2 separate regions of the Homo sapiens genome follow, and region 2 is linked to region 1. Evidence: promoter capture Hi-C in 16 types of primary human blood cells and fetal thymus (Javierre and others, 2016). All regions are on one chromosome and are shown on one strand. Each heading gives the region's core, a stretch centred on a gene start or on the middle of the fragment in contact. The rest is flanking DNA. Distances are from core to core; before and after follow the strand shown.

Region 1 (5,543 bases), core at 821-3,320:
AGTTTTAAAGGATACTTTCAATTCATTCAGGTTTTCCTCCATTCAGTGTTTACTGAAGGCTCAGTAGGTACAAAATTTAAGTTAGCTGTCAGATGAAGAGAAAAGAATCATAGTAGGACCTGAAAAGATTGTGTCTAGCAGATGGAAAGACTTGTATGTATAAGGTAGCAGGAATGCCCAGTGATCTGCTCAAAAGCCTGGAACTGGCTCTGTTAGCAATAGAGAGCCAATGAAGGTTTTTAAGCGAGGAGAGGGATCATGAGTGCCAGGGTGTGATCATAATGTCAAAGCAATTTAAAGGAGGTGACAGGGAGATGAGCTAAAAGGGCTGTTGTAATATTGGAGCTAAGACTGCATTATAGGATCCAGAGGTGGTTGAGGTCATGGGGATAAAAAGGAGACAGCAAGTAAAGTCCTATGGAAGTGGAAATGGGAAGGTTGAGCAGTTGTGCAGGGGGGAGGGAGGAAGATATAAATTCCTTTTAAGGAAGACTTTTGTAAATTATAAGAAAGAGGGTTCAAAAATAAATTTCAGATACTTCTAGAGTATGTAAGGAGGAAGAAATTATTTTTCATGACTGTTTTAAATAATGATAAGGTATAAGCAATAAGTTTATGTAATGATGGAATTGGAAACTTGTTCAAGAGGAATTCTAGAGAGTTGAATGAATCATAAAAATCTAAAAAAACCTTCAGACTACTGGGTATGTCAGAGTAGAAGCCAGGCGTGGTGGCTCATGCCTGTAATCTCAATACTTTGGGAGCTTGAGCCAAGAGGATTGCTTGAGCCCAGGAGTTCAAGACCAGCCTGGGCAACACAGTGAGACCCTCCCTCTCCACAAAGCATAAAAAAATTAGCTGGGCGTGGTAGTGCATGCCTGTGGTCTTAGCTATTGGGGAGGCTGAGGCTGGAGGATTTCTTGAGCCTGGGAGGTTGAGGCTGCAGTGAGTTACAATCACCACTGTACTCCAGCCTGGGTGACAGAGTGAGACCCTGATTCAAAAACAAACCAAAAAAGTGATTTTTTTTTTTGGAGGGGAGATGGGGAGAAAGAACAGAGCTGTCTTTTGTGTTTATGATAATTTTGATCTTGTTTCTTAATCTGCAAAACAAAGAAGAGCATACTGGTGAAAAATAAAAGGAATGTAGCCTAGAATTCTGTTCAAATCCAGCTTCTGGCACTAGCAACTGTGTTATCTTAGTGAAGTTACTTAACTCGTCCCTCAGCCTTACTTTCCTTGTGTTATGTATAACACAGATGATAGTGATACCTATCTTGTACGGTGTGTGTGTGTGTGTGAGAGAGAGAGAATTGAATGGAATGAGATAATACATGTGAAACCCCCGTCCATGAGAGCTTGGCATATAGTAGGTGCTCAACAAATGGCAGGGACTTCTCTTGTTCTCAGCAATAACACTTAACAGAGCATTGGTAGGTCTATCCCTTTTTGGTGCTGAAAAATATTTTGCTAAAACAAGACGTATATTTGAGATTGGCTTTATGTGAAAGACGACGACATTCCAGGACACACAATTTTTATGAGGGCATTTTTAACCGGACACAAGGATCAAGCCTTTCTCGTCGTCTGGATTGCAGAGTTTTGCCGCGGGTTCGTTGTTTTTTACTATGGCTAATTTTAACGCTGAACATGAAGGGGTTAAGAAATGCCTTTACTCATGTTACATTAAGTAGCAGAAATTATAAGATAGAGGAATTGGGGAGGGAAAAAAAAAAGCCTTGGCAGCAACTCATGGTTTCCTAAGTAAGACGGCTTGTAGTTACAGTGATGAGTTGAATATACGTTCTGGCAGTTTAATCTGATCAGACTAACTTGGGGGTGGGTGCAACCCGTCGCTTCCACCCTTCGCCTCCTTTAACCAAAGCCGCCCAGAGTGCAATTGTCCAGAGTTGAAACCATGCTGTGAGTTGCAGCTTCTAATTGGAGAGGCAGGAAGCCCTTCCCTGGACAGACCCCGCCCCTCCCCGTGTGAATCGCCAGCCTGCGGGGAGGAGCTGGCCAATGCTAATGAGCGAGTTGCCAGGCGAGACAGGAACTTCTTTCCCCTTCTCTGTGTCAGGATCGCAGAAAGTATGTCCCTTCTCTCACCATGAGCTGGCTCTCCAGTTCCCAGGGAGTGGTACTAACAGCCTACCACCCCAGCGGCAAGGACCAGACCGTCGGGAACAGCCATGCAAAGGCAGGGGAGGAAGCCACCTCGAGGTAAGCCTTCGGAAGCTGAAAACAAAACAAAACCCTCTTACCTGCTCCAGGAAGAAAGTGACAGGGAAGTTGGCGTGGGGAGAAGGGAATTCCATCTGCACGTCGAGCCTGAGCTCGTGCAGCAGCAGTAGCAACGTTTGGCGTGATTTTTATGTACTTTTCATCTCACCTAGTCCAAGTCTGAAATAACCCATATGATTACTGGTGAAGACAGAGAAGAAGGAACTGGGGAGAGGGCTATATGGGCTGTCAGACTAGCTATTTAGCAGGTGCATTTGCACATGCTGAAAGATCAAATAGGTCTATCTGAAACACTTCCTTTCCTATGAAATGGAATTCTTGAATGGGCTCAAGGCACTGCCACTGGAACTGTTCGCTGGGAAAGTCTGCCAAAAAGCAGGGAGGCTGTTCACTGTACTGTACAAGCTGTTGTTGTTAGAGTGTTTTTTTTCCCCCCTCTCTTTGCTGAAAGCAAACCTCTTAGGCAAAAAGCCCAAGACACTGGCCTGTGGCAATATGTTTCACATTCTTTTGTGTATGTGGATTTTTTTTCCCCCAGGCTTTCAAAAAGGAGTTTTTGTCAGGAGATAGCACTCTGCTGCTGGAGTGAAATGTGGTTAATGTTAAATCACTTTATAGGCAGAGAGGGCAAATGTTCTATAGACCACTGAGGCGCAAAGGGTACCTTTCTCCCTATCTGTGTACTTTGTTCCATTTTCCAAGGGCTTTTTTTTTTCTTTCTCTCCTTAATGACCTTCTCACTAGCTGAACATTTTTACCTCCATCAAGATATAAATAGTAAATATTGGCCTAGAAGATTGCAAGAAGCAAATACTAACCTAATAGCCTAGAACACTAAATTAGTTATCGGTAAGCACATTTCCTCCTCAATGCTTAATGTGATAATAAAACCTTCTTTGTTCTTATGTGACTTATGCCTGTGCCTTAAGCTGAAATAATGCTGCCTTTCATTTGTTTTAAAATCTCCAAATATGAGGGAGGGAGAAAAATCAAAGGAATGGCTGTAATACTCAGTGTTAGACTCCCAGCTGACGGGAACTGTTTCTCACATAGCATCCACAGTATGTATTTCATTGAATGAATTCATTTCCAAAGATAAAAAAGATTTGGTGCTTGTGCCTTAGCTGTGTTACCATTTCATTTTCCATCATTTTAAATGACTTAATGTTAAATCATTAAATCAAGAGATCTTGAAGTGTTTTCATCCATTTTTCTGTAATGTATTAGTAATCATTAAGCAGTAAAGCAGCCTGCAACACCAACCCCATACCCAGCCATAACTTGGATTCCACATGTCAGTCAAAATTGCCAAAATTATACAAGCTCAGGACATTCTCCGACTTTAGGCTGAATGGCCTGAGGACCTGAGCTGAATCTTGGATCTTGATTGTGAGAATGGAAAGGACCTTAAGGACTGAGTCCTAACCTCTCATTTTCACGTAGGACTCAAACCCCAGGGATTAGTTAAGTTTTTGGAAGGTCTGGAGTTCTAGGCCTTTGTCTGGGGCTGCATCTCCAGTTCTGGAGACTCATTATTCTGTGTTTGCAGTGTGGGTGGCCCATACTTGAGTGGGTTGAGAGAATAAGAGAGGATCAGATCATTCTCTGCCTAGGCTGAAGCAGAACCAAGAGGCACTAAGGTGGCAGGGTGGGCAGCTGCCCACACGGCAAGTGCCCTGTGTGGGGCCACAGCTCCAGGTGAGCTCCTTTGCTGGCTGTCACGTAGCCTGCCCATACCAGACCCAACTTCCCACCACTGAATTAGTTCTAGGGATCGTTCCTGATATTGACCGGAGAAGATGGGAGCCTGGTTTGAGGGCAGGGAGGAAGGAGGGAGTAGGGCTAGTTTTCAATGGCTTTTACCCTTAAGGGCTAACGAATCAGATAAACTTGTTGTTGTTTTGGGAGATACCCTGTTTAGCCTGAAAGGATTGAGATACTGTAATTGCTATGGGGGAGGGGATGGATAGAAGGAAGGAGGATTTGAAGGTGGGATGGGGTCCTCGGTGACCACCTAAGAATGGTGATAGTGGTTTCGGGGCGGTGAACTGGACTTTGGCTTTGGCTTTGGCTGGGTTGGTCAGGTGTTGTTTTAAGCCCTGGGAAGCTGCTCCAAGGTGCAAGGTTGATGGTTGATGCCTATTTAAAGAAGTTCTCCAAAAAGTAAAAACAAAACAAAACTCTTAAAAAGGCTACATTAGGCTGGGTGTGATGGCTCACACCTGTCATCTCAGCACTTTGGGAAGCTGAGGTGGGTGGATTGCTTGAGCTCAGGAGTTAGAGACCAGCCTGGGCAAAAAAAAGACCCCCGCCCCCACAGCTCTACCAAAAATACAAAAAAAAAAAAAAAAACAAGAAACCACAAACAAACTAGAAATGGTAGTGCATGCCCGTGGTCCCAGCTACTCAGGAGGCTGAAGTGTGAGGATCACTTGAGGCTGGTGGAGCAGAGATTGCAGTGAGCTGAGATCACGCCACTGCACTCCAGCCTGGGTGAGGGAGTGAGACCCTGTCTCAAAAAATAAATAAATAAATAAAAAATAAAAGCTAAATTAGATTCTGCATTTCCTCCTACCCATTTAAAAATTATAGAAGATAGCACGGAAGTATAACTTTTCTTATCACAAGATTTTGTCTGTAAGTAATATGTTCTTTGAAATATTTAATCCAATATTTAGTTCATGAGATGAATTCATGTCTTTATAATGCCATTTATACATATGTGTATGACTTAGCGTATTTATTGAAAATTGTTTCCTTTTTTTTTTCGAGATGGAGTTTTGTTCTTGTTGCTCAGGCTGGAGCACAATGGCGCACTCTTGGCTCACCACAACCTCTGCCTCCCAGGTTCAAGCTATTCTCCTGCCTCAGCCTCTATAGTAGCTGGGACCACAGGCATGCACCACCACGCCTGGCTAATTTTGTATTTTTTTTTTTTAGTGGAGTCGGGGTTTCTCCATGTTGGTCAGGCTGGTCTCGAACTCCCGACTTCAGGTGATCTGCCCACCTTGGCCCCCCAAAGTGCTGGGATTACAGGCATGAGCCACTGCGCCCAGCCTGAAAGTGTTTGATTTTTAGCCTAGCCATACCAAGTCTTTTTTTTTTTTTTTTTTTTTTGAGACAGAGTCTTACTCTGTCACCCAGGCTGGAATGCCGTGGCACGATCTGGGCTCACTGCAACCTCCGTCTCCAGGCTCAAGTGATTCTCCTGCTTCAGCCTCCCAAGCAGCTGGGATTACAGGCGAGTGCCACCACCCCTGGCTAATTTTTGTATTTTTAGTAGAGACGGGGTTTCACCA
Region 2 (5,543 bases), core at 1,378-3,877, 98 kb after region 1:
AAAATCTTTTAGGCCTTCAACTGTTTGGATGAGGCCCACTACATTATAGAGAGTATTAAATAATTTTCATTATTCACAGTCTACTGTGACAACCAAAAAAAAAAAAAAAAAAAAATCTGTCACTGCAACATGTAGACTGCTGTTTGACTGAACACCTGGGCGCTATGGCCTAGCCAAATTGGCACACAAAATTCACCATCACACCACAGAAATACAGTGAGCTTCAGTTTCTGTGGAGGTTCAGTGATGCCACGTGATCCGGCTGAGGATTGCATCCAGTCTATTAAGAAAAATCTTCCTTTGTCATTTTCTCTTGAAGTTTTTTTTTTAAATTTATTTAGTTGGTTATTTTACATTTTTGGTCCCTTAACATTCTGCAGACTCTGGCTGTCTTATCTATTTGAAGGATTGGATAATGGCCCTAAAGTATTTTTGTTTCTATAAAAAATAAAGGAGCATATAAAAAGTTTACTTGTAGATAACACTCATCTGTTTGCATCCCTTGTGAATTATAAGCAAAAAATCACAGTGATCTATCACAAAAAAAGTTTTGATTTATCAGCTGACAACTCAATTAGGTCATATCTGTATTTTGTAAAATGGAAAAAATTAGAAACGACTGATTTGCAAGAAGATTCATTACCAGTCTTTAGAGGACTATAATTTAATTTTTGAGCTTATATACCCGAAAAGGACACTAACAAAGCTTATCTAATATCTATGAACCTGTACCTGTTATATTATTTTACTCAGAGGTACATTGTTTAAACCTTGTGTTCTCAGAAGGATGAGGGAAATAGAAATATTGTTAATTTTAATCTATGAAAAAAGTCTGTCTTATAACCTAATTATCAAATCTAGTGTTTTCACTGTCAAATGAATCAGCCAACTCAGCCATACTTTGTGTCAAAGAGTCTGTGTTTTCATTTCATTTTTCAATTCACATAAGTATGTAATATATATTTTGAGAAATGCTATGAAAATTACTGATAAATTACAGAACATAGATACATTAGTAACAGCATCATTAAAATGTATGAGTCAATATAGTTATTTTTCATCTCTATTTTAATCCTGATAATAAAAGGAATGCTATAAAGTATTATTTATATTTTAATAATGCAATATAATGTAGCTAAAAATGTTATTTTCAGTGAGATATATAAGAAAACACATGGCATTCCTTCTGACGATATATGTACGTAACTCTATTGGGTGCTGGTTTTTAGCCTTAGAGAATAATGAAAAGGACTCAAATATTAAAATGCAGAAATTACGCTCATTCAGTTATTTAGAAGTCACAATCACTTTTTCCTGTGTACTTAATGAAAGTGAAAGGCATATATTGCTGAAAACTAATTTGCTCCAGCAGCTAGCATACAATTGTACTTTTTGTTAATAGGACTAGAAACATTTTAAACATTTTATAAGATCAAATAAAATGAAAATTGGCTATACATTGAATATTGGTTACATTAGGTTTTAAATGCTTTATTTTGAATAACGCCCATCTGATCTAAAATAATTCGCCTAAAATTTTTGCTATGGGATTTTATCCAGTGTTACTTGAAAAATGTGGTCTTGGAAAATATTCCAGAAATTTTTTTTCTTTTCTTTTTTTTTTTTTTTTTGAGACAGAGTCTCGCTCTGTCGCCCAGGCTGGAGTGCACTGTTGCGATCTTGGCTCACTGCAAGCTCCGCCTCTGGGGTTCACACCATTCTCCTGCCTCAGCCTCCCAAGTAGCTGGGATCACAGGCACCTGCCACCACGCCTGGCTAATTTTTTGTATTTTTAGTAGAGACGGGGTTTCACCATGTTAACAAGGATGGTCTCGATCTCCTGACCTTGTGATCCGCCCGCCTCGCCCTCCCAAAGTGCTGGGATTACAGGGGTGAGCCACCATGCCCGGCCTACTCCAGATGAATTTTTAAAAATCCTGTACTGCTTTGACTGATCAAAGATGCTTCTCTTTTCCTAATAATAAATCCTTAGGAGAATTTTGAGACTGCTATGCTTAGTTCTTACTGACTTCCTCAATATCAGTGCATCTTTGGCCATAATATAACCCAGGAATAGAAGAGGTGAAGTGTTTAAAGAAAAGTTGACATCTCTTCCAGTGTCCACATACTACAATATATCTAACTTCAGAATATCCAGACAAAGGTCAAAATACCTCATTTATGATGCTTTGCTCCTAACAGACACTTTTATGTGCAAGGGAAAAACAGTAAGCTCCAGGTAGTTTATAGAGCCTTGTTTAATCATTAAAGGAGGCTTCCCTGAAAATTTTTTTTTTTACATTCTTTTGATACTCTAGAAGATTTTATGCCTTAGGGCATGCAGAGAATATTATAGTAAGACTGTGGATGAGTGAAGAATAGGTCTGTCTTTTATAAAGCAGGGAAGGCAATTGTGAAATGAGAGTGGGTGCCAGGGAGGAAAACCTATATGATGCTAGGAAATGCCTTATATTCAAACTGAGGACAGGAAAACTGATTTTCTTAAAATAGAATATGTTTTATACGGCCTTTGTGTACTGCTCAGGGAATGCCTACTCCAAGAAGATCACGTTATCAAGAATCTGACCACTCTTATTGTCTTCTTAGCCTCCAGTAGTCATTGTAATTTCTCCATTTGCCTTCTTTTTGCGGGTTTCTGCCTTTTTAAAAAACAAAAACAAAAAAATGCTTTTTGTGGGAATCTGGAGTTAGATCAGCGTATTCATTGGGCATCAGGTATGACTTAGAGGCCATATACAAGGACATTTTTCTTTGTTTAACACCAAAGACTTAAAAATGAATATTTGCAAACAGTCTTTTTTCTGCATGTCATAAATAATTCTTTCTTGGAACAAGCTAAAAATGAGATGTAAATATGCAAATGCTAGATTTTCATAAGATTTATTTGATTGCAGAATGTAGGTTTCTGGAAAAGCAGAATAAATAGATGTTCTTAGTTGCTTTTAAACAGTGAACATCTTTATTCTGTTTGTTTGGAGTACCACAGCTGTTGTGTGAAATTACACACTTCTGTTATAAAGTAGCATAAGGCCCAACTTTTTCTAAATTATAACAAAAGTTTCTGGACTTATTGTTTTGAAGGACAGTGGTAGTAAAATAGCATTCAAAACCTCATAAAATCCAGTTTACATGTCATTGTAATCAGTTTTATTTATATGTGAAACAGATGTTAAATTCGGAATTGTACCTGTTACAAATACGGAAATTAGAATGTTTCTCTGTTTATGCACAGCTGATTTCTCGAATTGAAGAGAGAGGTTTGGAAACAGAAGGCCTCTTACGGATCCCTGGAGCTGCCATTAGAATCAAGGTAATCTCTGGGTTCTACTAATGTAAACATTTTATTGTTTATTTACACTTATGCATTTTAAAAGCTAACTTGTCCTCTCTACCCCTTTTTTCCATTGTTAGTAAAGTAGATAAAATAAAACAATAAAACCTTTTACCATTCAGTTTAGTTTTTCTACAGTCCCTTCTGGTTTTTGCTAAGTTTTTTGTTTTGTTTTGTTTTCAAAATCACCATATTACCTATAATAATACTATGACAAAAGAATGTGATGAGTTAAAATATTAATGGCGTGGGGATAGTTGTGATAGATTTAGCCAGGATGAGTAGTAGCAATTGAGTTTACGGAAGTCAGGGCCGGGCGTGGTGGTTCACACCTGTAATCCTAGCACTTTGGGAGGCCAAGGCGGGAGGATTGCTTGAGGTTAGGAATTCAAGACCACCTTGGGCAACAAAGTGAGACCCTGTCTCTACAAAAAATAATTTTAAAAAATTAGCCAGGCATTGTGGTGGTCACCTGGAGTTCCAGCTACTCAGGAAGCTGAGTGGAGAGGATTGCCTGAACCCAGGAGTCCCATGTGGCAGTGAGCTGTCATTGTCCCACTGCACTCCAGCCTGGGTGACAGAGCAATAAGACCCTGTTTCTTAAAAATAAAAGAAAAAACACTTTGGGAGGCCAAGGTGGGCGGATCACGAGGTCAGAAGTTTGAGACCAGCCTGGCCAAAATAGTGAAACACTGTCTCTACTAAAAATACAAAAAATTATCCAGGCATGGTGTTGGGCACCTGTAATCCCAGCTACTCAGGAGGCTGAGGCAGGAGAATCGCTTGAACCTGGGAGGCAGAGGTTGCAGTGAGCCAAGATCGCACCATTGCACTCCAGCCCGGGCAACAGTGCGAGACTTCGTCTCAAAAGAAAAAAAAAAGAAAAAGGCCAGGATCATAGACTCCTGCAGATGGGGGACCTTGACATCCTATGCATAATTAGTCTTAGTGAGCCGGCCAGACGAGACACTCTCAACCACCTTCCTGATTCACACAGTTCCCTGTCTTGCTGCATCCAGGGTAGCCTGAGTCTGGCTGGTGAAAGAATAATTCCTAGACTTCCCAATTTGAGCCATCCCTTCTCCCTTGCCTTTTCTTCTCTCTGGATGACAGTTCCTTCCCACTGTTCCAGGGTACCACGTGTCCTCCTGCTGTCATCTTTGTGCCTCACTTTTTGGCCTGGGGGATAAAGCTTCCAATGAATGCATGATAAAGATGGAATTACCCTACAGGGGATGCATACTGCATATCCCCTCAGGGGATTTAAATGTAAAGGGGACTCATACTTGGAATTGTAGCTGTATCTGGAAGCAGCCATTAACTACTAACTTTTACCCTATCTTCCAAATTCACCTTTAGCTCTGCACTGAGATAGCACAAGTAACCACTGCCCACATCCAATACATTGTCTTCCTGAATTTGAAAATCCAAGAGAAAATAGGAGAAAAGAGAGAGAATCTCTCTTCATTTTCATAACCCCATTCTTTATGAAATCGTTAGAGCTGGATCAGGACTAAGTGTTTCTTGGGGAGTGCACACTGTCCTGGCCTGCTTCTAATGGGCTGTGGTGTTGCCAGGATTGGAATTACTCTTTATACATTTCACAGTTTGCATCACCTGCTTTTTTTGATAAGTTGCCTTGATTTAGGACACCAGTTTCGGCCTCCTTGGCTCTTACTACATAGTGATCTCATTTTAATAGGATTCGAGTAACCTGATATATTCTGATCATAATTTTCCACTTGTGTCCCCTGGGTTTGGTGTCTGGTACTTAGAGCTCCCTGAAACTGTGGTGTTTGTAAGTTTCATAGCTTGTCATTGTCTCACTTCATGTAACACCTATAGCACGTTTGCCACTAGTGGACATTGTGTGATTCTGAGACGAGTTCTTTTAAGTACATTCACTAACAAAGATATAATTCCTCAGAAACAGGTAACAAACATAACTTCATATTACCCACATTGGCAAGATAGTCCTCAATTCACCGAGTTCAAAGCACTCGGGCCCTCACTAGCAGACTGCAATGGCCAGCTCACAGGAGGCAAAAATACATTTACTTCAGTACAGAATAGTGAATATAATGCAGATTTTACTTTGCAACGAGAAGGCTGGCAGAAGGACAAGTTTAACTAAGTGTAATTTCTAAGAAGGCCAATTAAGTGGATTCAGCTGGCTCAACTCTTCAACCCA

What was found. The method cuts DNA at HindIII sites, captures the fragments that hold promoters and counts their contacts. A CHiCAGO score of 5 or more calls a contact.
Region 2: a contact is called between a fragment that was not itself captured here and the fragment with the promoter of ARHGAP18 in region 1, in 7 of 17 cell types (monocytes, M0 macrophages, M1 macrophages and 4 more). The highest score is 7.9, in monocytes.

Annotation. Positions count from the first base shown.
Region 1 is chr6:129,706,704-129,712,246 of GRCh38, reverse strand. ARHGAP18 (Rho GTPase activating protein 18) reads left to right here and starts at 2,070. Exons shown (of 15, transcript NM_033515.3): 1 at 2,070-2,223. The coding sequence starts at 2,111. RefSeq lists a silencer at 1,717-1,796. The HindIII fragment of the contact is 10,321 bases long and covers 1-5,543 here.
Region 2 is chr6:129,609,321-129,614,863 of GRCh38, reverse strand. It overlaps ARHGAP18 (Rho GTPase activating protein 18), which reads left to right. Exons shown (of 15, transcript NM_033515.3): 8 at 3,254-3,331. Among named protein-coding and RNA genes, the nearest start is that of ARHGAP18, 98 kb to the left of the region's middle. The HindIII fragment of the contact is 3,838 bases long and covers 709-4,546 here.